Regions from separate parts of the Homo sapiens genome. Here all the other regions are linked to region 1. The links are contacts of gene promoters, found by promoter capture Hi-C in blood cells and fetal thymus (Javierre and others, 2016). All regions are on one chromosome and are shown on one strand. Each heading gives the region's core, a stretch centred on a gene start or on the middle of the fragment in contact. The rest is flanking DNA. Distances are from core to core; before and after follow the strand shown. Region 1 holds the start of ZNF501 (zinc finger protein 501). Region 2 overlaps TOPAZ1 (testis and ovary specific TOPAZ 1). Region 3 overlaps TOPAZ1 (testis and ovary specific TOPAZ 1). Region 4 overlaps TOPAZ1 (testis and ovary specific TOPAZ 1). Region 5 overlaps ZNF445 (zinc finger protein 445).

Region 1 (5,746 bases), core at 1,130-3,629:
CAATAACTTAAGCTCTTGTTCTAAACATGGCCAGAAGCCCATTCCATATTCTCTGAGGAAATACCTAATCACATTTGCAATGGGTTTTCCAATAATTTACTACCCATATTCCTTGATCCAACCACTACACCATTAAGGCATCATACTGAGCAGTTCAATAAGTGGTTTAAAGATGTGCTACCAGATGACTGTAGAGTCTTCAGTTCAGGTACTCTGATAAGAACTTAGTGCACTCTAGGACCTGTCCCATAACCAATTATTCCATAGCCGTTTTCACAGTGGGCCACCCTCACTGATTTGAGTAAAATGGTATCCATTTCTGTGTGGTCCTGCATTTTCTGCTGGGTCCACATTTAGTGGACATTGGTGGGTCCCACCATAGGTCTGCCATCACTTCTGATGGTAGTCTCACAACCACCACCATCCTGGGCTCTCTAGTTAGAGTTAACTTACCAAGAGACAGGTTGTTAGGAGCACAAGCAATACTGGCTTTTCTCCTGGGGGCTCTTCTCTTGAGGAAAGGCAGGAATTTGAGGCACTGAGGGAGGAAAAAGAGCCACTCATAAATTGCCAGCCTACTTCCTACACCTTCTAGATTCAGGGTAACTCAAGAACATCCCATCTCTAACCAAATGACCATTTTAAGTTCAAATGAAAGAATATCGTTATTATCCTAGAGGAGTATCTCCAGTGACAAAAATTAGTGAGTTGGCAGACTTCAGAGAGATGTGACAATGTACAAAGAGGGCAGGTCCTTCCTAGGACTAAGCATCTGGGCGTAAAAATTTCTTTATACGACATCAGGTTGGAGCCCAATGGCTCCCCTAAGTCTACTGGAAAAGCCATTGATTTCAAAAGTCAAATGCTGCAGGGCTACAATAGAGGGCAGTAGGACCAGTAATGGACTCAGTCAAGAGGTGTGGATTCTAGTCTCAGCTCTGCCACCAATTTGTTCAATGACCTAACACAGGTCACTCAGTCTCATCCATTTCTTATTTGTTAAATGAAATTGAAAAGCTAGATAATATTTAAAGCTTCTTGTAATATCAACATTCTACAAAGCTTTGATTCTATATACAGATGGGAAAAGAGCAAAAACCTCAAATCAAGCCCTTCCAGTCCATCTTTGATTGAATCTGTTTATTCATTTATTTGAAAAGTACTAAATGAGCTAGCCGTGAGGTGAATGGGTCTTGTTAAGAACGGGCTGAATCAACAGCAGGGAAACTTCCTGTCAGTTATCCTCCTACAATTAGAATTGGGGGAATTTCTCGAAAATAACAAGAGGATTGCCTTTGTGTAAGGAGTATCTGCTGTAAGATGTTAAGGACTCTTCATAAGGGAAAGGTTTCAAGAACCCTCCTAATGCAAAGAACACTGTATTCAAAGGCAGGAACCTGGTTTCCTGTCTAATACATCCCAATCCACTAGCATCTCTTAACTGACACTGAACAAACTGTTTAATTATTTTCAAACGTCTCTTTTATTTCCTCATTTGGTCAAATAAGCCAGCAATTATTTTCAAGCTTGCAGTCAACCTTTAATATTTAGCTCAAATGTGAAACTTCACACCTCTTCCTTGTGGGAAAATTTTGACTTTTCCAAGGCCCTTCCTCGTCTACATTCTCAAAGAATTTTACAAGTTTCTACTGTAGGACTTTCTAGTCTGATTACATTCTGTCTTCCACCAGCAAACTTACAAGTATGGCATGGGCTCCAGGACTAGGACTTTTGAACAAGTTACCTAACCTTTTTTTGCTCCAGTTTTTTCAACTGTTAAATGGAGACGATACCAGTAACTACTTTATAGGGTTGTCGTAATGAATAAGTGGGTTACTACATGGCAACTACTTAGAAGAATGCCAGCTGGTAAGCATTCAATAAATAGTGCCTGCTGTTAAAGTATTGAGTCTACATGTCTTCATACGGTACCTATTTTGTTGTTGTTAGAGAAGAATAAATAATGAAGGGAAGGCACTAATTCTTGCATATACTTACTTCAACCCGCACAACTTTGGGAAACGGCAAGGCAGGAAACAGTATTTACTTCTGGAAATCAGAAAACTAAAGTGCCCAGAAGTTCACTGACATGCTTAAGTATGTATAAATCGAACCCAGGTCCTCCGACTCCCAGCCTAGGGCTCTCGAACAGCCTCTCCTTTCTTCATGGCAAGTTTGCCCTAGGCCTCGGGCCTCCGCTCCACAGGCCCTCCAGGAAGAAAAACGCCCTGCTTCCCGAGGGAGGAGCTGGAATCGACCCGCGGCAGCCGGGCACAGCAGAAACCGCTCACCATGCGCTTCCCGCGGCGCTCCCCGCGGCGCTCCCCTCTCGCACCTTGCAACACTCAGGTCCCTGGGTGCTGCCCTGCGGAAAGGAGTAAGTCCCGGACGCGCCCAGCCGGCGTGACGTCAGCAGTCCGCGCCTCGGCTAATAACCACTACCGTCTCCTCTCTAGGAAGGTGGGAGCGGCTTCCGCTCGGTGGTTCCTTCCCGCACGCAGCTACGGGTTTCGGTGCTGCGCCGGTTAAGCCGGCACCAGAAACAACCTGCGACCCCACCTGGCGTGCGTCTTCCAGCACAGGGAAACGGGATGGAAGTCAGAAGGGTCGACCACAAGGAGCTCTTACTGTGCATCAGTTCATCCTGCAAGTCCGCCACATTTAGCTTCCTATGTTACTGTCCTTTGGGGATTCTCAAGGCTTTTCACAAAACTGGCTTCCACCTTCCTCACACACATCCTCATCTGGAAGAAAACTGACCTCTTCACAGAAACCCCTGACACCTTACTGACCCAGGATCTTTGTTCAGGTGGCCAAAAGAAAAAGTTCTGCAGGCCAGGCGCGGTGGCTCACTCCTGTAATCCCAGCACTTTGGGAGGCCGAGGCGGGCGGATCACCTGAGGTCAGGAGTTCAAGACCAGCCTGCCCAACATGGAGAAACCCTGTCTCTACTAAAAATACAAAAATCAGCCGGGTGTGCTGGTGGGCGCCTGTAATTCCAGCTACTCCGGAGGCTGAGGCGCGAGAATCACTTGAACCTGGGAGGGGGAGGTTGCAGTGAGCAGAGACTGAGCCACTGCACTCCAGCTTGGGTGATAGAGTGAGACTCTGTCTCAAAAACAAAACAAAACAAATCAAACACTGCTTTGGGCTCAAATCCCTGATTCTCAGTGTATGAACTTTGCAACTTTACCTCTCTGTGCCTGCTTCCTCACTTACCAGGTATAATAATGGTACCACAGGGTTGTTGTGAGGATTAAGTGAGGTTAATACGTGTGAATTACTAAGAACATCTAGTATTTTTTAAATCTTCAGTAAATGTTAGGACTATTGTCTGTGTCTCAAATCCCAGCTCCAGTACCTATTGTTCTGCCCTGACTTCACTGACCTTTCAGGGCCTCAAGGTAGCACACCCATCCCTTTCTACAAAACTTCAGATCTTGCTGGCTCTAACTCAGGAAATATTTGCACACATGGGCTCATCTTGACAGGTAAAGTCCAGAGATAAAGGCATGAGTGGAGAGTACCTTATTCACTTCCAAGCATTCCTACTGATCTGCAATCTCAGGACAATAGGGCTGTGTGCACACCATCATATCCCTAGTGTGCAGCATATAGAAGTGAACACTTGCTGTATAAATTAATGAGATGCAGCAGAGAAATTATCCATTCCAGGCCAGGCATGGTGGCTCACACCTGTAATCCCAGCACTTTGGGAGGCCATGGGGGGCGGATCACGAGGTCAGGAGTTTGAGACCAGCCTGACCAACATGGCGAAACCCCGTCTCTACTAAAGATACAAAAATTAGCCGGGCGTGGTGGTGTGCCCCTGTAATCCCAGCTACTCAGGAGGGTGAGGCAGGAGAATCACTTGAACCTGGGAGGCGGACTTGCAGTGAGCCGAGATCATGCCACTGCACTCCAGCCTGGGTGACAGAGCCAGACTCCATCTTAAAAAAAAAAAAAAATATCCATTCCAATCTTCAGATTGGCTGTTTTCCCAAAATGGAGTCCCTTTTGGACACAAATCAGGAATGCTGGTGCCACAGACTGAGGCCATCGCTATCTTTGGCTAAAAAGTGACCCTTTGTAAAATTGTCAGTTGACATGCCATGTAACAATAATGTTAAGTTTCCCTCTCCAGGTGTCACATTCTCAGCACTTCTTTGGAATCAGATAGCAAGTTCTTCCCTCCAGCCCTAACATCTCACAGGCCAGAGACCCTAGGTCTAATTATTCATTCCCCAAACATTAGGCTTCAAAGAGTCTCCAAATCAGCAGGGTGTAGTGTGTGGAGGACATTAAGTCTGGAGGGAGGCACCTGAGGTTACTAGAAACCGTAATCTGGAGTTTAATAGCAGTTTGGGCTGAGCTTCTTTCAATGAGGTGGAAAACGGATGGTAGGGATGGACACCAAAAACGTTCCAAAACACTAAAATAACCTTAGCCCTGATGTGGCCACTGGATAAATGAAACTAATGCCACATATCGTCAAGATTAGGTTTCTACCTTATGTAGAAAGTAGGGGTCAAAAGGTATCATCAACTTACTTGTCACCCTCACACTCAGGAAAGTCTGAGATTTTGAGAACAAAAAGCTTCTCAATCTTATACAAGTGAGCTCCTCACATCCTCAGGATAAGGAAAAGATTGGAGCACTAAGTGGTCAATTCTAGGCTGGATGCAGTGGCTCAGGCCTGTAAGGGAGTCCGAGTTAGGAGGATCATCTGAGGGCAGGAGTTAGAGATGAGCCTGGGTAACATAGCAAGAATCTGTCTGTACCAAAAAATAATATTAAAAAACTTTTTTTTGAGACAGACTCTCACTCTGTCACCCAGGCTGGAGTGCAGTGGCATGATCTTGGCTCACTGCAACCTCTGCCTCCTGGGTTCAAGCAATTCTCCTGCCTCAGTCTCCTTAGTAGCTGGGATTACAGGCACGCGCCACCATGCCTGGCTAATTTTCATATTTTTAGTAGAGACGGGGTTTCACCATGTTGGTCAGGCTGGTCTCAAACTCCTGACCTTGTGATCCGCCTGCCTTGGCCTCCCAAAGTGCTGGGATTACAGGCGTGAGCCACCGCACCCGGCCAGAGAATACTTTTTAAAAATTAGCCAGGCATGGTAGCTCACGCCTGTAGTCCCAACTGCTTGGGAGGCTGAGGTGAGAGAATCGCTTGAGCCTGGGAGGTCTAGGCTACAGTGAGCTAGGATCACGCTACTGCACTCCAGCCTGGGCAACAGACCGAAACCATCTCAGAAACAAAAAAAAGTAGTCAGTTCTATAAAAAATAAAGAGGCATATGGAATAGAGGTATGACCAATACAGGGAAAAGTAAATGAAATGCAAGGACACTGCAGTTTAAACCTCATCTGACACTGGTTGTGTGGTCTTGAGCAACCCCAACATCTTTTCTCTTTTGTTCTGAGGATCTGACGTGGCTCCATCTGTGTCCTTCTAAAGTCATGAATTAAATTTCAGTGCACAATAAGCAAGACACTCAAATTCTTTATCATCCCAGGGCCCAAAATCTCAGGAAGTGCTTCCACTTTGGTACTTTTTTTTTTTTTTTTTTTTTTTTTTTTTTTTTTTTTAAGAGAGAGGGTCTCACTCTCTGATACGCAGGCTAGAGTGCAGTGGCATGATGCTAGCTCACTGCAGCTCCCAACACCTGGGCTCAAGCGATCCTTCCACCTCAGGCTCAGCATCCAGAATAGCTAGGACTACAGGCATGCACCACCATACCT
Region 2 (5,746 bases), core at 1,347-3,846, 440 kb after region 1:
TTTATTAAGCTAACAACAAAAAATGAGTCAAATAGAAAAACGCATTAAGGTAATTTGTACACATATAAGAGAGTACATTAGGTGTAATTAAGTGGTGAAACAGAAGATAAAAGACACTCTTTTTACACTTGATGAGCAGGACATTGAGAGGAAATGAAGTACTAAGAAAAATAAGGTGAGGCTGGCCACAGGCAGCTTGACTAAAGTAGGGCACAGCCAAGAGACAGGAGAAGGGTTTATGACAGGCCACTATCTAAATGTTTGGGCATACAAACAGTTATTAGAGCTTTGCCTTCAGCTTTTATAAGTCCCCACCAAGACACATATATTTTGGCTTAAATAATAATGATTTTTCTCACCTCGATTTCATTTCCAGAACTGCAGTTATTTCTTGTTTGGAAGCTTGTACTTGGTATAAAAGCTTAACAATATAGTTAAAGTGCTCTGGGTCAAGCACCATCCCGGCTTCAACAAGCTGTAGAAGAGAAAAGAAAGAGTGGTTATTCTTACAAAAATGTGACAGAATTGAGGAGCCAATGTGTGTGAAACAACTAAGACACTAATGGAAGAAGTGAAACATGGAGACAAGTGGAATAAAACTCATTTAAAAAAATTGAGGCACAGAACCACAAAAAGATATCCTAAGAATTTAAAGCAAAAATGAAAATATTAAGTTTTTGGATTTTCTTCCTGCTCTCTAAGTTATCTCAACCACTTTATCATATATACCTCTTATTTAGTACTCAGTCTGTCTTCTAATCTAGGACTGGTATTCATACCTCATCCCTGATTATAAACTTCCTGAGAAGTATTGTTCCTGTGCCTCACATAGGGCCATGGCCAGAGAAGAATCAGTGATTCCTTGATAAATTAATCACTCAGGTGGACCAACTGCCCACATGTAACATAGCACGTAATTAAAAAAATACCAATTCAAAGGCTTTATCTGTCATTCACATATGACTCATTTCCTGTCTTCTTCATGAGCCTCAACGCTAATGAAGAGAACCAACAAGGGAATATCTGGACACTTCTAGTGTGAGAATAGATGAATGAGAGGCAGGCCTTTTCTGACAGCTCTTCTACATGACATTATCCTGGAAACGTGGGAAGATACAAGGTTGTGAGCTGGCAGTCTTATTAGTTGCCCCAGCTCAAATGATCCTCTTGACCTTGGTTCAAAGGTATAATGACTAGGTCCTCCAATACCTCCATAATACTTCAAAGGTATTATGACTAGCTACCCTGGACAAGGATTTAGAGAGTTAAGAATGACTCAACTGAGTGGTGTTTGAAATTCTCTGAGCAATATTTTTGCTGAGAATTTTATTTGGTTCTATTCTGGTTTTCAGAAAAATTCCCCTTTTAAGAAATTACTTAAATATCAAAATATATTTTGAATGTTTGGGAGAATGTATGCTTTGTCTCCAGTATAGATCTGAAGGGAGTACTAGGAAATAAGAATTTGGGGTAGGATAACAAAACAATACCAGGGGTAAGTGGAGAAGCTACCTGTTTCAAGGTATAATGTGAGATGCTGTAATTTGGCTGTTAGAACTCACAATTATATATTTTGAGATAGAATTTCTTTTAGTGAAGGACAATAGTAACAAGCTGCTGAGAGATTTTCCCCACCTTTGAACTCCAAGGAAAATTGTCTCAAATTTAGTGGTACTCGGCCCCTTTTGAATGGGTCCTAGAAATGCTACCCTAAGACACGTTATTCAACAACTTTAACTAAAAATAGTTTTGGTAAAAAAAAATCCTGTAAAAATGACTATTTAAAGCCTGTTCTAAAGATTAGGCTCTAATCCTTAAGCTCTATTAGCTCCTCTAGATTCAAAGCATGCTCAATTTTATTTTAAAAGAGGAAAACAGCTCCTCTCCTAAACCTACCAATCCACTACCTTAACAAATAGTTTTCCAAACATCATGAAGTAAAGGACTGGACATCATGATTTTTTTACTGTTACGCTCTACAACATTTGAAAGGGTCACTGGTGGTCTAACTGTATTCACTGACCTTGCAACGACTTTTGACTAAATGAACAAGGCCAACTATAAACAAACCTGCAAGAGAACAAATCAGTTATCTGGTAACTGACATGCCTTAAAAACTCTGCCCTTTAACACTGCTCAAAGACCAGGGTAAATATAAATTGTAACAGACTAGGTAACAATCTAAGGCAGGACAAAAATGTTAATTATCTTTTCTCAGTGATATTTTTGTTAAATACATGGAGTATGGTACACTGCTAGAATAAAGAGGAGGAAAAGCATCTTTCTCCATGATGATATTATGGTGTTATTACTGAACCCTGAAATAGTCTTAACAGGGAAATTGGCACTGGTTTTAAACAACTTCCAGAAATGATGGCTCCATATTAGCCATGCAAAAATGAAAATCATTGTCTTTGTTAGATATTCTCCACTAAGGGTAATTTTATTTAGACAGTCACTGCGGGGTACATTTTGCAGAAAGCCAAGTTATTCAGTATCAGACAATTTATGGAATCCTTACTGAGATTTTCTACAACCTCTACGGGTTATCAGTAACTTTTTATTTTTTGAGATGGAGTTTTGCCCTGTTGCCTAGGTTATGGCACAATCTTGGCTCACTGCAACCTCCGCCTCCCAGGTTCAAGCAATTCTCCTGACTCAGCCTCCTGAGTGGCTGGGATTATAGGAGTGCGCCACCATGCCCGGCTAATTTTTTGTGTGTTTTTAGTAGAGATGGGGTTTCACCATGTTGGTCAGGCTGGTCTTGAACTCCTGACCCTGTGATCTGCCTGCTTCAGCCTCCCAAAGTGTTAGGATTACAGGCGTGAGCCACCACGCCTGGCAATCAGTAACTTTTGATTCCAAACATCTCTAGGCAAGCAATTGTCAAGTTTTGTAATGTGAAATCTGAGGTATTCACTCACATATCTGTTCTTCTGCTTGAGTTCTTCCAATGTTGCTTCTGAAAGAAAACTGGCAGTTTTCCTATCAGGCCTATTCTGAAGTAGACGATTGAGTAGTATCAAATACTAGGAAGTATTTAACAAAAGTTGAATTTTATATTTTTGTAAGTCTTTTTTGGTTTGTTTATTTCTGTTGTAAATGATCTCAAGTCTTTTAGAGAAAGAAAATTTTATTTAATCATCCTTACGGAGTAGAGACGAAGACAATTCATACATCAAAAAGCAATAATCTGAGTGTCTGAAACTATTTAAGAGGAAGGCTTATCAGCCACTGGATTCTTTTTTTATAAACCCTATTTCAAGAGAAAAAGAATACTTCTGGAAATAGAATTCTTTGGCATCCAGAATGTGAATAAAAGGCAGCTCAAGGGTACCCCCCCATGGAAACAATTATTTTCTTGGTTACTCGCCATCAGAGAATAAAAGAGAAAATAAAACCATACCTTGCAAAAGATATCAATTAAAGCAGGTACAGCATTCCTTAATTTCATAGTTGCCACATACTCAAATATGTTTAGTAATATTTTCAGAGAAGGCTGGATAAAACAAAAAAATTACACTCATTTTCAGATCTTCTTTTAGTACACCTTAAATTTCTCAAATTCATTTATGTTGAAAAACACAAGTGGTTTCTAGGAAGTATTCAACAAATACAGAAATTCAACTGCTAAGTTCAAACAATGAATATGACAGAGAAATTAACATAAAATATTAAAATAACATATATTTTCAGGCTACTTACCAGCATTTTAACCATTATGCTGAGGTTCACTATCTGAAATACTTCTTTCAACAAACAATGTTTGAGTAAAGAATTTAGAAGGTCATTTAGCACTTGTAAATCAAAGTATACACCTGGGGGAAACTTTCTGTAGTACTCCATAAATATGTTTACTGAAAATGAAAATATATATACTAAAGTCATTTGCTGCTTCAGATATCTGTATTTCTTAAATTTGATAATTTTTCTATATATAAAGATAAAATAATATGAATTCAATGTAAATTCTTGAAAGGTACAGTTCTAGTATTAGAAAGAGTAGATGAAAATTAAAGCAAAAGTCAAAATGGCAATAATATTTGAAGTCAACCAAGCATGCTCAGCATGAAGTAACCCATGTGCTACCTGCAAAGAATAGGTCCAAACTGCCATTCCCATACATCATAGCGTCAATATGAGCTCCTACAGAGTCAAGCTCCCAGGCAGTCTTGAGGCAGTAGCCTTGGTACATATGCAAGGTTATATAGTTTGGTGATGGATGCAGACTGTTTTGACACATACCCATGCTTGTTGCTTTAAACCCACCAACATGTTGACATTATTTTTAACTTCTCCCTGCCTTGTCATGGATGGGGATATTTTTTATTTCAGTTTGTGATTGTGGAACATTCTACTAAAAATTACAACAATGCTGATTAGTTTTCTTTGAGAAAGTACTTCCTTCATGCCCATCCAAATCCTTAATTTTCTATGTAACATGATGTTTCCAATTTTTCCCCATTAATTTTACTAAAATTATTTACATTAGGATTCTTTCATTGATCATTTTTTTCTTCATTCCAAAATTTCCCAGGTTAAAATCTGTATACCTTAACTGCCTTAGTAAAAATACTTTTGGTTTTATTTTGTGTTAATTACTTCTATTAGAAATATTTATTACTAGCTGGATTACCTGGTATTGTTTAGGAAAGCCAGTAGCTACTGACAAAGTTCAGTGGCACAAATGAAAAATTAATGTTAAAGTTTTAATAATTTTTAAAACTTTAATAATATGGTATAACAATATTCAAATTTCTTGTAAAGCTTTTTTATATACTACAATTATTTTCCCTGGACACATACAGATAAATTCTTGCTGCTATACTTTTGGCAGTATTTATATAGTCGCCTATACAGAAGCTGATCAACTGATAAAACGGTAAACTCAGTGTTATTATAGCTTATTAATAAAACTGAAATTGCAGACATTCAAAAAGGTGCAGTTAATCTATGTTAGCCAGTGTGTAAATAGTCCACTAATTGACATGAAACCTTTCTCCTTTTTGTCATTAAGTTATTTATTTTTTTGAGACAGAGTATCGCTCTGTCACCCAGGCTGGAGTGCAGTGGCATGATCTCAGCTCACTGCAACCTCTGCCTTCCAGGTTCAAACGACTCTCTTGCCTCAGTCTCCAGAGTAGCTGGGATTACAAGCATGCACCACCAAACCTGGTTAGGTTTTTTTTTTGCATTTTTAGTAGAGACGGCGTTTCACCATGTGGGCCAGGCTGGTCTTGAACTTCTGACCTCAGGTGATCTGCCCGCCTTGGCCTCCCAAAGTGCTGGAATTATAGGCATGAGCCACTGCACCTGGCCTCATTAAGTTATTTTTAAACTGTTAATATATTATCTGCATTGAAAATAATGATCCTCTCGGCCAGGCGTGGTGGCTCGCACCTGTAATTCCAGCACTTTGGGAGGCTGTGGGCGGATCACCTGAGGTCAAGAGTTCGAGACCAGCCTGGCCAACAGGGTGAGACCTTGTCTCTGCTAAAAATACAAAAATTAGCCAGGCATGGTGGCACAGGCCTGTAGTCACAGCTACTCAGGGAGACTGAGGCAGGAGAATCGCTTGAACCCAGGAGGCGGAGGTTGCAGTGAGCCAAGATCGTGCGACTGCACTCCAGCCTGGGCGACCGGGGAAGACTCCGTCTCAAAAAATCAAAAACAAATAATGATACCTTCTTGTTAAACTGTTGGGTGGAAACTGTCTGAACATTTTAATACATTTTGACACAAACTA
Region 3 (5,746 bases), core at 1,625-4,124, 420 kb after region 1:
CGTCTCAAAAAAAATAAATAATATAAAAATGCAAAGTAAAGCTGTGAATAACTTTTGCCCTATCAAACTAGCAGAGAGATAAGAAAAATAATAATACTAATTGTTGGCAAGGGTATTTCATAAGCTGCATCTTCATACACTGTTAAGTAGACTGTAATTACTACAATCTAACTGAAGGTGTAGAGGACTTTTATAGTCTCCTCACAGAGAAAAGACCTGGAATGGAATGTACTGAATAGCTAGATTAGGGTTTGCATAACCTGGAATGTACCAGTCTGCCTGTCTGATAACCAAAAAACATAGTATCAGGCACTAACATCTGGAATTGTTAACTAACATCTGCACCTGTGATACCTAAAAGGACATGTTTGTATAGAAGCTATATCTAAAGGAAATAACTCTCTAAGATTTTCTAATAAAGTGGGGGGCTTTTTTTTTTTTTTTTTGAGACAGAGTCTCGCTTTGTTGCCCCAGGCTGGAGTGCAGTGGCGTGATCTTGGCTCACTGCAAGCTCCGCCTCCCGGGTTCATGCCATTCTCCTGTCTCAGCCTCCAGAGTAGCTGGGACTACAGGTGTCCGCCACCATGCCCGGCTAATTTTTTTTTTTTATATTTTTAGTAGAGATGGGGTTTCACTATGTTAGCCAGGATGGTCTCCAACTCCTGACCTCGTGATCCGCCCGCCTCGGCCTCCCAAAGTGCTGGGATTACAGGCATGAGCCACCGCACCTGGCCCGGGGGAGCTTTCTAATAAACCTGAAATAACATCTGCAAATCTGAATAGGGAAAATTTGTTGATATTTGCCAAAAAGCTTTAAAATGCCTTTACCCTTTAACACAGCAATTCCATCAGAATTTATCCTAAGGAAAAGTAAGATTTAGCGGTGACGTTTAGCAGGAATTATCGTTTACAACTGAAATCTGAAAAACAAGCTAGTTCAGTAAAAGTGGATTCATGGATCAAAAGACAGATCTATCCATCTGTCTATTTATAAGATAGAAAACCATGCAGCCTAGTAAGTGATGCTGTAGAAAAATTTTTCACTGAAAGGCTACTGCCTGAAAAAAATGCAGAGTATAAAAGTGTCGGTATAACAACATTAAAGTGGATAATAGCAATTTCTGGGTGACCAAATGATATGGGATTTTTAACATTAGTTTTGCTTATCCAGCTTTTCATATTTATTAATATGTATTACTTATACAAAGGCAATAAGTTATTTCAAAATTCAAAGGCAGTTTCTCAATAAATGGCATAACTTTTTTACAAAATTTGATTATAGAGAACTAAGATACTTATTTTTCAGCCTCTGAACAAGGATTATAAAATGATAGTCTTAAAACCATTTTATATTTCAAGACTTTTTTATGTTGGTTTTGGGAGATGGCATGGTAGCAATCTGTTGCTCATTTGCAGGATAAAAAGCACTAGTATGAGAAAGAGTTTGAAATGTCAAAGTGAAATGCCAAAACAATAGATTTGTTCTCGCCATCAAATCTGTCACTCACCAAACAAAAAAATGTGTGAGATATTCCGCATTTCTCAAACTTGAGTAATGTATGTAACTCCATCTTTTGCAAATTCAGTAGGTAATAAAAGCATATTTTTAAAAAGGAAAAATATATGTAAAAAGTTAATCTGCTACTCTGTCCTCCAAGCACTCAATTTCTCCTTCCAGAGGCAGAGTCAGCCACTATTACTAGTTTCTTGTGCATTCTTCTACACATATTTTAAGGGTATATAAGCAAATACGTATTTGTCCATTGTATTATTATTCTTATTCGGATGGTAGCAACTGCTCTGTACATTCCTGTGTTTTTTTTTTTTTTTTTGGCTTTGCAATAGGTCTTGAAGATCATTCCAAATGAACACTTACAGATCTGCCTCATTCTGCTTTATCATATGGCTATAACACAGTTCAACTGGTATTCCCTTAATGAGCATTTAAGCTACCTGGAATTCTTTGTTACCATTGTTGGTGTAACAAAATATTCCAGATAATTTAATATGCATACCTTTGTATACAGGTATAAATGTGTGTGCAGTACAAATTCTTAGAAATGGAATTAGTAAATGAAAAAAAAATGTGTTTTAAACTTTTGACATTTATTTTGCCAAAAAGCTCCTAAAGACAACCTCTGTGAATGTCTATTTCTCTATACCCTCACAAAAAGCATATCACCAAACTTTGATCTTTGATAGTCTAATGGGTTCAAAATGGTGTTTGTAATTGTAATGTATATTTCTCTTATTACAAGTGAGTATTAATCTCACTTATTATCAGTGAGATTGAGCCATTTGTATTTCCTTTCTTGGGAATGGCCTGTTCACTATAGAGCCCTTTTAAGAATTAAAAAATTCTAGGAACAACTGAGCATACTTCTGTGGCCTCTTCTTTTGTAGAGATAAAATTTTACTTATGAAAATTACTTTTAGTTGAAACTGTCACTGCAAAAAAAAGAATACTGCTTATAATTGATAGAAGTTTAAAGTTAGTCTAAAACGGAAACATTGAAATTTAAAACAAAATCTCCAAAGATCACTCCACATCTCTCCCACAAACTCTCCCAGTTTCTAGTTTGAGAAAGACTGGTTTTGCCACAAACTTTCAGACAGGAGGTTCCTATCGTAAGGTGACCCAAGTTCATTTTTATAAACTATTTTCACCTTCCCATTTCTTGACACATCGCTTCTTTCTTCACAGAGCTTGTGAGCTCTGGCTTATATTTCATTAATTTCCATTTTTGTATTTTGGTACTCTTCCCACTTAGGAAACCTCACTGACTATGTTTAAGTTGAAGAATACCTTTACAAACGAGCTTTTGAATGAAGCCTACTCACAACCTCTGTATTAAACCCTCAGCACTGAACATATACAAGATATTTTATATACATATATTTCCCATATATGAATCACATGTATATGAATATATATATATGTGCTAGTGTTTGTGTGTTAGTGTGTTTTACAGTTCTCAATTTGCTTTATTTATTGATTCCATCTTCCCACCTAAACTCCTGAGATCCTTGAGGTTTTTTCGTTCTTATCCCACTTTATCAAATAAAATCTGCCTGATGGTCCAAATAGCCAGCGCTATCATTAGCTTCATTAGTATCGTAACACTATTGTGCTCTTTTTAATTTTTCTCATACCAAACTAACCTTATTTGTTCCTGCTGGCTTAATTTCACTGTAATTTCTGCTTAGAAGAATTGCCTTATCAAGGAAAGTAAGCTCTACTCATCTTGGTTTGAAGTCATGTTTGCCCATACATATGAAGATAGAGTTTACGCACACTGCAATCAGGATTTCCATTTTACACAGCGGCTGAAGCCTGGGCTCTGAAGCTGGATTGTCTGGATTTGAATTTGGCCTCCATTCCTTACTTATTATGTCATTTTGGGCAAGTTGGTTAATATCTCTGACAGCATTTTCTTATCAATAAAATGGGGATTTTAATAGTTCCAAATTCAGGGTTCTATGAAGATTATTTGGGATAATTCAGGGAAAGCATTAATATGGAGCCTAGGCCATAGCAAGAATTAGGTTTTGCTTTTTTTTTTCTGAGATGGAGTCTCGTTCTGTTGCCCAGGCTGGACTGCAATTGCGCGATCTCGGCTCACTGCAACCTCCGCCTCCCGGGTTCAAGCGATTCTCCTGCCTCAGCCTCCTGAGTAGTTGGGATTACAAGCGGCCACCACCATGCCTGGCTAATTTTTGTACTTTTAGTAGAGACAGGGTTTCGTCATGTTGGTCAGGCTGGTCTCAAACTCCTGACCTCAGGTGATCCGCTGCCTTGGCCTCCCAAAGTGCTGGGATTACAGGCATGAGTCACCACACCCGGCCCAACAAGAACTAGTTTTTAAATGAACAAAGGCTTATATAATTTCTTCTTTAAGGCTAAGTTAACTTTCCCCTTTCAGTTTACATGACAACCTTTCCTACCCACATGTTCACTAGGGTTTAGACCAAACTATTAACCACAGTTCAATATCAACTTAAGGTAATTACATAGACAAAAATGCATGACAAGTATAACGAATTATTTTATGCTTGCATATATCAGGACTTACCCCTCATTACCCAAATGGCACCATCTAGGCTTCCACTTTTTAGAAAAATTTCTGCTGCAACATTCACAATTTGACATCTTGATGCTAACTTCTCAGGCCCTATAAGTCCTTTTAAACTTGTAAAGTGTATTTTTAATTCATATAGTTTCTCTAAGACCTTCCTTCCCTAGAATAAAAATAAAGAACACTAATTGGGTATCAATCATTTACAAACACACAAAGCCACTGATAATTATTCACAAGCCAAGTATCCAGTTTGAATCATCATCCTAGACTGCTGGCTGTTAAGCTGCTCCAAGACTCTTTCCTTAAGCCCCTTCCTGTTCAGCCATACAGATGAAAGGGAAAGAGGAACAAGCAAGGCTCTGCCTCATATTAACCACCTCTTCCCACCAATACCACCAGACCCCCTTTATCAGAAGCCTTCTTTTTATTTGTTTTATACACTGTACTTCTCCTTAAGATTTCATGTGATGAAAGGCTTCCATGATTTAGCATAGAAAACTACTGATTATATGTTTTTGCTCCTCTTCTGTTGGTCAATCTGGGATCCAGGAGGGAGAGAAAGTAAAAATGAAAATAATTTGTTATCAAATTTAAACATACTCAGGAGGAGGCTGAGATGGGATGATCACTAGAACCCAGAAGTTTGAGATCAGCCTGGGGAGTGTGGTGAAACCCCTGCCCTACCTTCCAAAAAATTTAGACAAAGAATGATAGTGAAAAAAAGGATAAACTTGTTAGCTAAAATTCTTAATTCCGTAGACTAAGTATTTCATGTATTCTACATGAAAATTACCTTTGGTTTGGACATCAGAAATTGGACATATATCATTATTTTATACCATGAGCCAGCAAGCTTTTCCTGTAAATGGCCAGATAGTAAGTAGCTTAGGCTTTGCAGGCCACATTTAGTCTGTTGTACATTCTTTTTGATTGTTGTTTTTTAAATTTATAACTCTTTAAAAATGTGAAAAAGTCTTAGCTTGAGGGCTGTACAAAAACAGGCTTTGGGTGAGTTCTGGACCATGGGCCTTAGTGTACAGACCCTTGTTTTATATTCTATAATATTTGAATTAGATGCTTATTATGATGTCAAGCTACCTTCAAGATGACTGTATAAAAGAGTGCATTTTTAAAGGGATATGTTTAGTTTACTGTCAATGATTTTATTTTTACATTCAAAAAGGAATAGGTTTCATTAAAAAATTCATACTATGTAATAAAATAATTTTCTAAAGTAGTTAAAATTTTTAATTAAAATAGATAAAATTCACCAATCTACCAATGTCTCAAATAATAACCAAATAAAATTAAAATATACTCTAAAATTTCAGCAAAATCAGTCTGAGTTTCTCTTTTATTAAATTTGAGATGCAGTCTATAAAGACACATGCATATGTATGTTTATTGCGGCACTATTCACAATAGCAAAGACTTGGAATCAACCCAAATGTCCATCAGTGATAGACTGGATTAAAAAAATGTGGCACATATACACCATGGAATACTATGCAGCCATAAAAAAGGATGAGTTCATATCCTTTGTAGGGACATAGATGAAGCTGGAAACCATCATTCTGAGCAAACTATCGCAAGGATAGAAAACCAAACACCGCATGTTCCCACTCATAGGTGGGAATTGAACAATGAGAACACTTGGACACAGGGTG
Region 4 (5,746 bases), core at 2,339-4,838, 400 kb after region 1:
CAGACAGCTTGAGTCCAGAAGTTTGAGACCAGCCTGGGAAACATAGCAAAACCCCATCTCAAAAAAAAAAAAAACCACAAAAAAAACACCAAAAAACAAAAATTATCTGGGCATGGTGGCGCATACCTGTAGTCTCAGCTACATGGGAGGCTGAGATGGGAGGACTGCTTGAGCCTGGGAGGTTGAGGCTGCAGTGAGCCCTGATCATGCCACTGCACTCCAGCCTGGGCACAGAGTACGACCCTTTCTCAGGAAAAAAAAAAAAAAAACTTTCAGTCCCCTTAATCGCAACTTATTACTCACCTTATTCACACTTTTTAAAATCTAAATAATTTTAAATTACGGTTTAAAGTATCAAAGATGAGGATTACCACCTTGGAGAATGTGATACAGATTCTGAATATGACTTCAGAAGAGTTTTAACTTCCTAAATTGGTTTGGAAGGAAGAATCCTTGTTTAGATAATTAAGTTTTGGGTATATTTGTGTCTTATCTAGTGTAATGCACATAGATTTTCAAAACTCATCTAGTATTCCAAGATACACTAAAGGAAAACTATTCAGAGGGTAATTTAAACTTTTTGGTATAATTCAGAAAGTATTCTGAATTTTTGTGTTCATTTTCAATATTGTTTTATTATTCTCGATTACAGATGTAGTACAGCTTTAGAGACTGGACTGAGTACACACTAAACCTATTTCATACCCCTAAATGTTTTCCTGAAAACTCCAGTTACCTGCTTGCATATTTTCCCTATTATGTCTCCCTCTTACTAAATGCTGCACAGTATTCAGTTTTGGATTTCAGAATAAAGTGGGATTTACCATGCTTAGTTTCTTTTAAAGTCAAAAAGTAATCTGAAAAGTCACTTTTCTGTGTGAATAAAATCAATGAAAATTACATATCAATAAAAATTTAGTGCTTTAAAACTATTAACTTGCTGTAAGTCAATAAAGTCAAAGAGCTGAATATAGTGAAAACTGTCTATTTTTATTGCCTTTTATTTTCAACAATGATTACTTGAACTAAAAAAAAAAAAAAAGCAGACTTTATTAGCTAATGGTTACTGAAAAGCCAAACCTTTCCAGCCCACTTCATATTCTCTTTTAACCATTTCAGGGCAGAACAATGTTCCAAACTATAAACCTGTTCCTTATTAACATTGACAGTCATGTGTTTAACGAAAAGCTTTGGATCTGATATACGAGCAGCCATAATTAACCTTTCTACTGCAGCTTGATAATCATCATTGCTCCGAGACTGGTTGTCTTCACACCTATAAAATGAACACCTCATAAAGTCAGAAACTCTTAAAAAAGCTATATAGTTTCTTCAAAAGATAGTCATTTACATTTACTGGTACTAAGCTATGATAGTCTTCTCACCATGTTCTTCTAAAAGTGGCTTTCAAACTTTTTTGATCATGACCCACAGTAAGAAAGGCATTTTGGCCAGGCATAGTGGTATAACCCCAGCGCTTTGGACGCTCAGGTTGGGGGGATCGCTTGAGGCCAGGAGTTCAAGATCAGCCTGAGCAACACAGTGAGACCTTCATCTCTACAAAAAATTTAAAAACTAGCTGGGTATGGTGATGTGCGCCTGTAGTCCCAGCTGCTCAGGAGGCTGAGGTGGGAGGAGGCCTTGAGCCCAGGAAGTTGAGGCTGCAGTGAGCTATGATTGCACCACTGCACTCTAGCCTGAGTGATAGAGCAAGACTCTGTCCAAAAAAAAAAGACATATTATGGCCCAGTATATACCTTCATACATAAAAAATAAATTTGACAAAACAAGACTTATACCCTGATGACAAAAACCCTGATTTTAAAAATAATACTGGTTGTAACACCCTAAATTGATTTCACCACACAAATAGTCTGCAACCCAGTTTGAAAAATACTGATTTAGAACACAGCTAATTACCTAAATCTTTGTATTTTGAAAGTGAATAACTACAATTATTCATGAGAATGCATAAAATACTAAATGTAATCCAGTTTAGAATTAACATTCACATGTTAAGTTTTACTTTGATATTGACTATTTTTACTTATAAGCAAATACTTAATATGTAGCTAATATTTGGTAACAAGTTGTATAGCTATAGGGGCTTTATTATATTTCTGGTTATTTTCTTCAATACTGATTTAAGGTGCTTCCTTAAGTGCCAGAATTAATTTTTCTAATAATTTTTCTACCAGCGCCATCTGCAATCAATTGTGACTGCACTGACCTGCATAAAATTCACACGGTATGTCAGTTTTTTCCTCTGGGGTAGGGAATGGGAACTATTTAAAATAGAGGTGTGGCTGTTACATTAAGTATCACCTTTTTCTTTGTGTTCACTGCTTCCTACTCTTGGTATCTACCAGGCCCAGCAGCAAGTTCTGAGTAGGAGCCTATCTGCATTAACATCACAGTGTAGTCTAGAGTGACAGGAGTGAGGACTTGCACTTGAAACAGGAACCAGTGGTCAGAGAGAGGAAAGACTGGTCAGGTACCTTCTAGTACATTCTAGCTTTGAAAGAGGTGCCCGGGAATCTGGTAGGTGGTGCAGATGCCAACTATGTGCAGTCTTAAAAAGTCTAAAGATGAATAAAATTCTGTCTCATAGAGAGAGGTAAATGTAACAAGGCAGGGCTTAGCATGATAATGACAATAGAGAAAATATATTGGTTTGGACAAAATCAAAGATTTAGGTATGTCACTAGTTATGCACTATGGTTACAAATACCTTCCAAATTCAATAAGTAAACAAAGAAGTTGCATGTGTGTGGGGAATAGAAAGCTATGAGAAAACCATGACCTCATTAGGATGATGGGGAGCCTAGATGCCTTATCCACCATAGTGCACAGTGGTAAATAAGGAAGCCCTCTGAAAAAAAGAACTATAAGAAAAAAGGTGAATTTTAGTGGGTTTTTTTGAAGGTGGAACTAAAATAATTTACTTCCTAATTCTCCTCCCCTTAAGTGTGGACTGGATCAAAAGACTCATCTACAAAAAAGGAGAACAGAAGTGACAGTATGTAACTTTGGATAGTAGGCTGTTGGATGACAACTCTCCATGGGTCTCTTGAGTTTGTGAAGTTTTGCAAGAGTCACTGCCTACCCTTTGTTCTAAATTACAAGGATTATACAGTGAACAACCTTGAAAGATAAAGATAGTTTCTTCTTCTGGAGCAAAGGGCAGGTTTGCTCACAGTCTTAGATGATGGAGACAGTACCTCCCTGCAAAGCAAAGGGCAGGCATGCCTGTTACTCATAAAATATTTGGGTTTCCTAAGCTGGGTACTCCTCTCCTGTTACAGAACTCATGGCATATGTAGGTATCCATGTAGGCCCATCTATGGGACTTAGGAGCAAGAGGAAATGATGCAAATACGTAGATAATCATGCTGTTTGGTGTACCACAAATAATGAAGTCCTCTGTCTCCGACACAGGAGTCTTGTGTCTTATGCTACCATCTATGAAACTGTGGCAGGTTAGCTTGTAGCTTGCAATAGGGTAAAATCTCAGACTCTTCACAGTTCTTGCTTGATATAGGTCACAAAAGACCCTGCAGCTTCCTCCTTGCTTTTTCTTTCTTGGATCACTCATTCTGGGAGAAATTAGCTGTCAGTCATGTCATGAAGACACTTAACCAACCTATGGAGAGGCCCATGTGGTGAAATGAGGCTTCCACCCAACAGGTATTTGAGTGAGCCATCTAGCAAAAGGATCCTCTAGCTCCAGCAAGCTATCACGTAGGTGACTAAAGTTTCTGACAACATCTTGACTCCAACTATGTGGAAAAACTGAGTCACATGAAAATTCCCGAGCCAGGACCATCCAGCTAAACCTCTCTGAAATTTCTGACCCACAGATATTAAGATACTATTTTCTGTTTTAAGCCATTAGGTCCAGGGATAATTTATTCTATAGCAACAGATAACTAATGTAATATTCAACCAGAGGATCTGGTTTGTCACACCAGTAAACTGAAGCAAAATTCTTGTCAAGAAGCTCTAAAACAGGATTCCCAGGAGATCCTTATATTGCAAGTTTCCTGGATAAAGCTGACAAGAAATCGTATGGCATACCACGATTTAGGCACACCATCTACTGTATGCCTAAATTCTAGGATTCTAAACAAAATTACGTGAAAGGGTGTCACTCTGGTACAGTACCTACTTTATAATATTTATGCATATATAGCATTATAAAATATAGAAACTAGGCTGATGGCTTTATTTTCAATGGTATTCTTGGCTGATCACGTATTTCCCTTTTAGACCCTAGTCCTTTGATCTTTTGAGTTGACTAGAGATAAAGATTTTTATAGGTACTGATCTCTAAACACAAGAAAGGTTGGTACCTAAAGAGGATCCGTCTCTTTGAACATCTAACTATATCTCTGAAGTTGCTAAAGTGTTTACCGAATGCTACTAACTTGTTTGGTTTTAAGCCTCAAACAGGTCTAATCCTTTCTTAGTTTAAATGATATCAGAGTTTGCAATACACACACATAAAGTACATATATAAATATATACATAAATATATATGTATGTATAAAAACACATAAAACATTTACATCTTAGGGTGGGTGTGGGGAGTCATGATCTACATTCAGAATGCAGTTAAAGTTATGTCAACCAACCTTTTCAAAACTATCTGCAGTATCTGTGTAGAAGTTCCAGGACTCTGAATACTACTAGCATTAGATACCATGAAGATTTCAATAGCTAAGAGCATTTCAATCTCAGATAAATAAGATGGAATTAGAAGAAGTTTTCGGTATAAATTTCCTTCCAATGGTGGGTAGCAACCCAAGGAAAGAGCACCTGAAAAATCAAATAATAGGTCAAACTTTACTAAAACCCAATAGGTAAAAACCTAGATTTCTGAAATACCTACAGGCGATAATTACTTACACAGAATAAGTCTTCACATTAGAAGTAGATTAACAAATTACATGATAGCTTATCCTAGTATATTTGGCATTATTCTTTGTAAAGTGCTTTTGAAACATTAAATAAAAAGTGAGAAGGGCTGGGTGTGGTGACTCATGCCTGTAATCCCAGCACTTTGGGAGGCTGAGGCGGGTGGATCTCTTGAGGTCAGTAGTTTGAGACCAGCCTGGCCAACATGGTGAAACCCCATCCCTACTAAAATACAAAAATTAGTTGGGTGTGGTGGCGGGTGCCTGTCGTCCCAGCAACTCGGGAGGCTGAGTCAGGAGAATCACTTGAACCTGGGAGGCAGAGGCTGCAGTGAGCCGAGATTGTGCCACTGTACTCCAGCCTAGGCGACAGTGTGAGACTCCATCTCAACAAAAACAAAAACAAAAAAAGTGAGAAACATTAAAAAAAAAACACTCTGAAAAATGACTTTTGGGCCTTATCATGGCAAATGACATTTATTTCAAGCCACAGTAAACACAAGACAATTTCAGAATAACTATTTTTGAGCACAGTTATTTATAGTACCATTATAGTTTATGCAATATTTACTGTTGCTACTAAATGTCTGGCATTGTGCTAAGTACTAGGCATAAAATACATTTCCATCCTGTAGGTGATCTGTGTGTTGTAGCTACATTCACCAATTCATGTTTTTAAAACTTCACTTTTCAAGAGAAGAGATTTAACTTTTAAATTGTTTAGGTGCTTATTAGGAGAGATATATAGGGAAATACCTATAAAACTTCTAGAACATCCAAACTATATATAGGCAATTTTATATTATTATATTTTACTGAAACCAATTTAA
Region 5 (5,746 bases), core at 1,004-3,503, 260 kb after region 1:
GTGCGAGGATTACAGGCATGAGCCACCGTGCCGGCCTTATATTTGTATTTTTATAAAGTCCCTCAATTTGGTTGCATCTCAAGTTTTCTGTCAAGTTTTACCACTGGAACCTTACTGTCTTTCTCCTAGTCATCAGTAATTATTTGGGGGAAGATAGTTTACTACTTTGCATATGAGATGCTGTTTCTCTTTGAACTTTGGTCTAAGTAGCATTCATTGATTGATCTTGCCTGCAGCAATGACTACTGTGGTGTTGGGATTTGACTTTCTCTTTCCTTCATTCCTTCTAGGCATTCATTGGATACTTACATACAATTCTCATTCATTCAAAGTATTAATTGGAATCTTTGTGAGGAAGAGTTATCCCTTCTCCCCTGTTATTTATTTATTCAATCAGTTATATTATTGTGTGCTTTGGATACTTATTTTATTCTTTGCACTAGAATGCAGTACTGTTGTTATTTTATTGCTGAAATTATTGTAGCTCTTTGACTATTGGGAGCTGTGTCTGTTTGCCCCGATTTTTTTTTTTTTTTTTAGTCCTTCCTTAGTTTTTGTTTTCTGGCACCCAAAACCCTTATATTTTTCCCTCCCCAGCCTGGCATCAGTCACTTCTCCAAGGATCCCTGTTTGTTGTTGTTGTTGTTTGTTTTAATTGGAGAATAGTATAGTATTTAGAAATCAAATTTTGGGCACTCCCATTATTAGTTTATTTCTTAATTGGTAAATGAATATAAATATTATTTTAAGGCTTTAAATATATACTGAAAGCATTTTTTGTGTGTGTGTGTGTGTGTGTGTGTGTGTGTGTGTGTGAAGTGGAGTTTCACTCTCGTTGCCCAGGCTGGAGTGCAGTGGCATGATCTCGGCTCACTGCAACCTCCGCCTCCTGGGTTCAAGCGATTCTCCTGCCTCAGCCTCCCGAGTAGCTGGGATTACAGGCATGCAGCACCATGCCGGCTAATTTTTGTATTTTTAGTAGAGACGGGGTTTCTCCATGTTGGTCAGGCTGGTCTCGAACTCCCAACCTCAGATGATCTCGCCTCAGCCTCCCAAAGTGCTGGGATTACAGGTGTGAGCCACTGCGCCCGGCCTGCATTTTTTCTTAAGTGGTGATTATCTTGGAAACCTGTTTGCTTAATATCAGTTTATATACCTTCTATACACTTACACTGGTAGGAAAACACAAAAATAAGAGACTAGCTCATGGGGACATTAAAAGGAAAACAAAGAAATTACATTGGCCATGAGGTGAAGAAACAATGTAACAGAAGAAAATCTCCTTGAAAAATATCAAGATCTTGGTTGGAAGTTTCCCTGTTCTTTTCAAAGCCATTTTCTTTGTGGGAATGAAACTGGGTTAAGGTATAAAGCTCTGGGGGGAGAGTCCTGAGAATAAGATCCAGCTCATGTTCCTTCCCAGTTCTGAGTGTAATTGTGATATAATCTCAGCAAGAAGATAAATGAAGCTTTTCTTCTATGCTTAAAAGCTAGTTGGGACTTGGGAGAAGCCTGTGGCATTAAGATACCTGAATTTCATTGGCGGGCTCAGCTGTCTGCTGAGGTAGCTGTATGTTCACTATGCTCTGGGTCTTTCATTCAGAGTTTGAGAGGCCCGTGAGGTCTTTATTCATGTTCATGATTGCAGAGGCTGAGCTAACCTTTCTTTGACTCAAGGACTGGAATCCTCACTATATTCACAGGCATTCGCCCTGAATTTTCTGTCAGTCTTCTCATCACCTCTTTACAAATACATTACTGCCAGGCAAGGTGGCATGCGCCTGTAATCCCAGCTACTCAGAAGGCTGAGGCAGAAGAATTGTGTGAGCCCAGGAGTTCAAGACCAGCATGGGCAATATAGTGAAACCCTTGTTCCCCCGTCCTCCTCCAAAAATCTGGAAGTTAGCTGTTGTAGGGGGGAAAAAAAAGTCACTGACCCTTTTGGACATTTGTGCAGCAGCTGCTTCAGAACAGTCCTGCTTGGAGACTTATTTTTGGAGCTAATTTGACTGTAGGTGTCAATTTCCTGAGATTGGTCAGTGCCATTTATATTTTTCACTGGGTACATTTCTTAAAAGTGTTTCTCTCTGGCCTCAATTTCTTTCTCTTTAACTTAATTGCCAGATTTATCTTCATCTTTAGCAGCATTTTGGTTCTTTTCATACTTTGGTTTTCTTTCTCTTCTGTCTGTTCTGCAAGTTTGGCCATGAAAGTCTCTCTTCTTTTTCTGTTTTTCAGCTTTCTCCTGATCAGGTGTTTCTCCTTCCCTTTTGTGCTGCTGGCACGCACCGAGGCTGGAGCCTGCTCCTCTTGGTCCTGAAGCTCCCACTGCTTCTCAGTCTTCGAGTCTCCTTTTATAGGCCTTCATTTATTTACTTTATTTCTTCTTTCATTTTCCCTTTTTTTTTTCCTTTGAATACTTATTCTTACTCCACTCCCCTTTTTCACAGCAAGGCTTCAGTTCTCTGCCAGAACTGTAGCAGCTTCCTCAGCATGTGTGATCCCTAATGTAGCTCTTTTCTTGCCTCTTCTTGGCCCATAGAGTAGGGCTGTAGTTTCTTTTTTATCCCTGGATGATTGCATGCCTTCTAGTGTGAGTCTTCTTTACATCTTAGTTTACTGTCATTTCTTTTGACAGTATTAGCAGCACTTGCTGAGAGCAGAGGACATTGGATAGGTATTAGTTCAGAGCAAATGTAGAAGGTGGTGGCTCTTTTAATTTCATAAGTGTCACTCCTTTTACATTTGCTTCACAGTGGTGGGAGATGGAAGGGGTCAGCATTTTCAGGGGATATGACCTTCATCTGTGACTTTGTGCACAGGGTAGTGGGGCCACTTTGCAACAAGTTCTGAGACCTGTTGTCCATCTCACACTTTTTGTAGACACTCCAGTTCTTCTCTCATGAGTCTTTAGTTTGTCAGTTCAGTGGCTATTTATGGGCATATTTGGATCCTGGAGTAGATTGATGGCTGTTACTGATGGATCTTTTCCACCAATAATGTCTGGGTACTTTTACTTCTAGATAAAGAAGCTTTTAGGGACAAGAAGATACTGATGAGATTGCTCTCTAGACTGAACCAAGAGTCATATTAGAGAAATTCTGGATGCAGGTGATCTGTACAGAGTCAGCTGATCCTGTGTCTGTGGAACATTAATGGCAGCACTGCTTGTATTTCTCTTTTTCTTCAACTTTTATTTTTTTTCTTCCATTGTTGCTGGCTACTCCTTTTCTTTGTTTCTGTTTTCTTTCTGGATAGGTTTTTTATTTTTGTTTTGCATGTTGTGTTTTGGTAGCATTTTGCTCTTCTTGTTCTCTACCTCACTTGCCTGTTTTTTTTTCTCCTTACATCTGTTCAACTGGAGAACATCCTTTTGTAGTTGCTTGAGCTGAAGCCATGGTTTGTACTCAAGTCCCCCCTCAAGAATGTGCTGTCCCTTCTACTGTGCATCTGCCATCTTCAATCCTACGAGTTGCTACTCAATTGCTTTGCTTCTTAAGAGAATTATTGATCACTTTGCTGTTTATAAATGTAATGGGTAACAATTTAGGCAACATAGGCAAATAAGGAAGGAGAGCCCTTTCATCCCACCTCCCAGAGGAAATCATGGCTAAAAATACTTTGGTAGTGAGGCTTAGGAGCTTTTATGTGCATATGTAAACTGCTTTGCTTTTCATTTGCTTTAAGACATAAATGACAGTATAACTATGCTTTCTAATAATTGCTTTTCAATTTTCTTTTCTTTTAGGAAATAGAAGACAAAAAAAATATAAAGTTGCTTTTAAATGCAATTCTCTACCTTCCTACCCCCACCACCAGTAAGAGTTTTTGTGAATCCTTCCAGGCTTTTAAAATTTCTTTGAGTAGTTATAGGTACATTCACATACATGCGTATACAGTCACACACACACACGGTTGTACGTTTTGTTTTCACAATTCGTATTTAGGATGTGCTTTCAAACTTAGCACATATTTTTGTTATTGTTGGGAAAAGCAGTCGTGCACAGTTTCTCTCTCCTTACTTGGCTGTGTAGGAGTGTCCTTGGACGCCAGGCATTGTGGCTCATGCCTGTAATCCCAGTGCTTTGGGAGGCCAAGTCAGGAGGCTCTCTTGAAGCCAGGAGTTTGAGACTGGCCTGGGCAACATAGTGAGACCCTATCGCTAAAAAAAAGTCAGGCAGAGTGAGGGTGGCACATGTCTGTAGTCTCAGCTATTCAGGAGGTTGAGGTGGGAGGATCACTTGAACCCAGGAGTTTGAGGCTGCAGTGAGCTGTGATCGTGCTACTGCACTCCAGCCTGGATGACAGAGTGAGAAAAAAGAGTGGCCTCGGGCCTGAGACATTTCCTTACAAGAGCGAAAGAGTCCTCACAACCTTTGCTGGGTTTAACATCTTGTGACTGTAGGTGTCACATCTTGTGAGGGACTATCTTGTTTTTCTGCACTTGATGTACTCCTTTGTTTTGTTTGTTTTGTTTTGTTTTGTTTTTGTTTTTGTTTTTGAGATGGAGTTTTGCTTTGTCACCCAGGCTGGAGTGCAGTGGCACGATCTTGGCTCACTGCAACCTCTGCCTCCTGGGTTCAAGTGGTTCTCCTGCCTCAGCCTCCTGAGTAGCTGGGATTACAGCTGTACGTCTCCACGCCTGGCTAATTTTTGTATTTTTAATAGAGATGGGGTTTCGCCATGTTTGCCAGGCTGTTCTCAAACTCCTGACCTCAGGTAATGTGCCAGCCTTAGCCTCCCAAAGTGCTGGGATTACAGGTGCAAGCCACCATGCCAGGCCTCCTTTGTTCTGTTTCTGAGTGCATGAATCAGCAGCCGTCATGCATGTTCCTATCTTTCTTCATTTCAGACCCCACAGAGGAGGGGTTAAGGTCTTTCTACTGCAATATGAAGCGTGTATACACACACCACCTGTGTAGACTGTGGAGTGGTTCTGCTGGCCACGAGGGACCAACACATTGCAAGTGGCTGGATCTTGTGAACCCTCCATCTCCATAAGTAAACATTGTACCTCTTGAGCTTGGTGGGGGTGGTGTCTTTTCTCAGTGACCTCAAGTCATACACTGTCTCTTCCTTGGGTGACACCTAGTTGCCTTGTAACTTTGGCTACAGAGCCTTATCACCTGGTGTACAGTAAAGCAGTTATGTTGATGTATAACAATTCTAGTACATTCCTTTTAGGTGTGTGAGTATTTCATCCTATAAAATGCTTTTTTTTTTTTTTTTTGAGACAGACTCTCACTATCCTCCCAAAATACTGGAATTACAGGCATGAGTCACTGCACCTGGCCAAATGCTACACTTTTATAACCTCCCAAGAGGTTCACCTTGCCTGCTGCCTAGACAGAGCTGATTCAAGATGGGAATTGCAATAGAGAAAGAGTAATTCACGCAGAGCCGGCTGTGTGGGAGACTGGGGTTTTATTATTACTCAAAGCAGTCTCCCCCAGCATTTGCGGAGCAAAGTTTTTAAGGATAACTTGGTGGGTTGGGGGAAGCCAGTGAGCCAGGAGTGCTGATTGGTCAGAGATGAAATCATAGCGAGTCACAGCTGTCGTCTTGTGCTGAGTCAGCTCCTCGGGGGGAGGGGGTGGAGGGGTGGGGGCGGGCCACAAGATCAGATGAGCCAGTTTATTGATCTGGGTTGTGCCAGCTAATCCATCAAGTGCAGGGGCTGCAAAATACCTCAAGCACTGATCTTAGGAGCAGTTTAGGGAGGGTCAGAATCTTGTAACCTCCAGCT

Evidence for each region. The method cuts DNA at HindIII sites, captures the fragments that hold promoters and counts their contacts. A CHiCAGO score of 5 or more calls a contact.
Region 2: a contact is called between a fragment that was not itself captured here and the fragment with the promoter of ZNF501 in region 1, in 1 of 17 cell types (erythroblasts). The highest score is 6.0, in erythroblasts.
Region 3: a contact is called between a fragment that was not itself captured here and the fragment with the promoter of ZNF501 in region 1, in 1 of 17 cell types (monocytes). The highest score is 6.1, in monocytes.
Region 4: a fragment that was not itself captured here is called in contact with the fragment with the promoter of ZNF501 in region 1 in 1 of 17 cell types (monocytes); the score reaches 5.2 in monocytes.
Region 5: a fragment that was not itself captured here is called in contact with the fragment with the promoter of ZNF501 in region 1 in 6 of 17 cell types (monocytes, activated CD4 T cells, total CD8 T cells and 3 more); the score reaches 5.5 in monocytes.

Annotation. Positions count from the first base shown.
Region 1 is chr3:44,726,268-44,732,013 of GRCh38, reverse strand. It overlaps ZNF501 (zinc finger protein 501), which reads right to left and starts at 2,379. Exons shown (of 3, transcript NM_001258280.2): 1 at 1,999-2,379; 2 at 454-538. It overlaps LOC105377056 (a long non-coding RNA gene), which reads left to right and starts at 2,488. Exons shown (of 3, transcript XR_940788.4): 1 at 2,488-3,222. RefSeq lists an enhancer at 2,499-2,568. The HindIII fragment of the contact is 3,071 bases long and covers 1,529-4,599 here.
Region 2 is chr3:44,285,500-44,291,245 of GRCh38, reverse strand. TOPAZ1 (testis and ovary specific TOPAZ 1) reads right to left here. Exons shown (of 20, transcript NM_001145030.2): 10 at 3,706-3,857; 11 at 3,407-3,499; 12 at 360-475. Among named protein-coding and RNA genes, the nearest start is that of TOPAZ1, 46 kb to the right of the region's middle. RefSeq lists an enhancer at 56-1,255. The HindIII fragment of the contact is 4,346 bases long and covers 424-4,769 here.
Region 3 is chr3:44,308,318-44,314,063 of GRCh38, reverse strand. It overlaps TOPAZ1 (testis and ovary specific TOPAZ 1), which reads right to left. Exons shown (of 20, transcript NM_001145030.2): 16 at 4,074-4,239. Among named protein-coding and RNA genes, the nearest start is that of TCAIM, 28 kb to the left of the region's middle. The HindIII fragment of the contact is 4,121 bases long and covers 814-4,934 here.
Region 4 is chr3:44,327,322-44,333,067 of GRCh38, reverse strand. It overlaps TOPAZ1 (testis and ovary specific TOPAZ 1), which reads right to left. Exons shown (of 20, transcript NM_001145030.2): 19 at 4,635-4,818; 20 at 970-1,276. The coding sequence ends at 1,057. It overlaps LOC105377055 (a long non-coding RNA gene), which reads left to right. Exons shown (of 4, transcript XR_940782.4): 3 at 2,199-2,248. Among named protein-coding and RNA genes, the nearest start is that of TCAIM, 8.6 kb to the left of the region's middle. The HindIII fragment of the contact is 4,796 bases long and covers 1,191-5,746 here.
Region 5 is chr3:44,468,524-44,474,269 of GRCh38, reverse strand. The region is part of intron 1 of ZNF445 (zinc finger protein 445); the gene reads left to right. Among named protein-coding and RNA genes, the nearest start is that of ZNF445, 6.3 kb to the left of the region's middle. The HindIII fragment of the contact is 1,563 bases long and covers 1,472-3,034 here.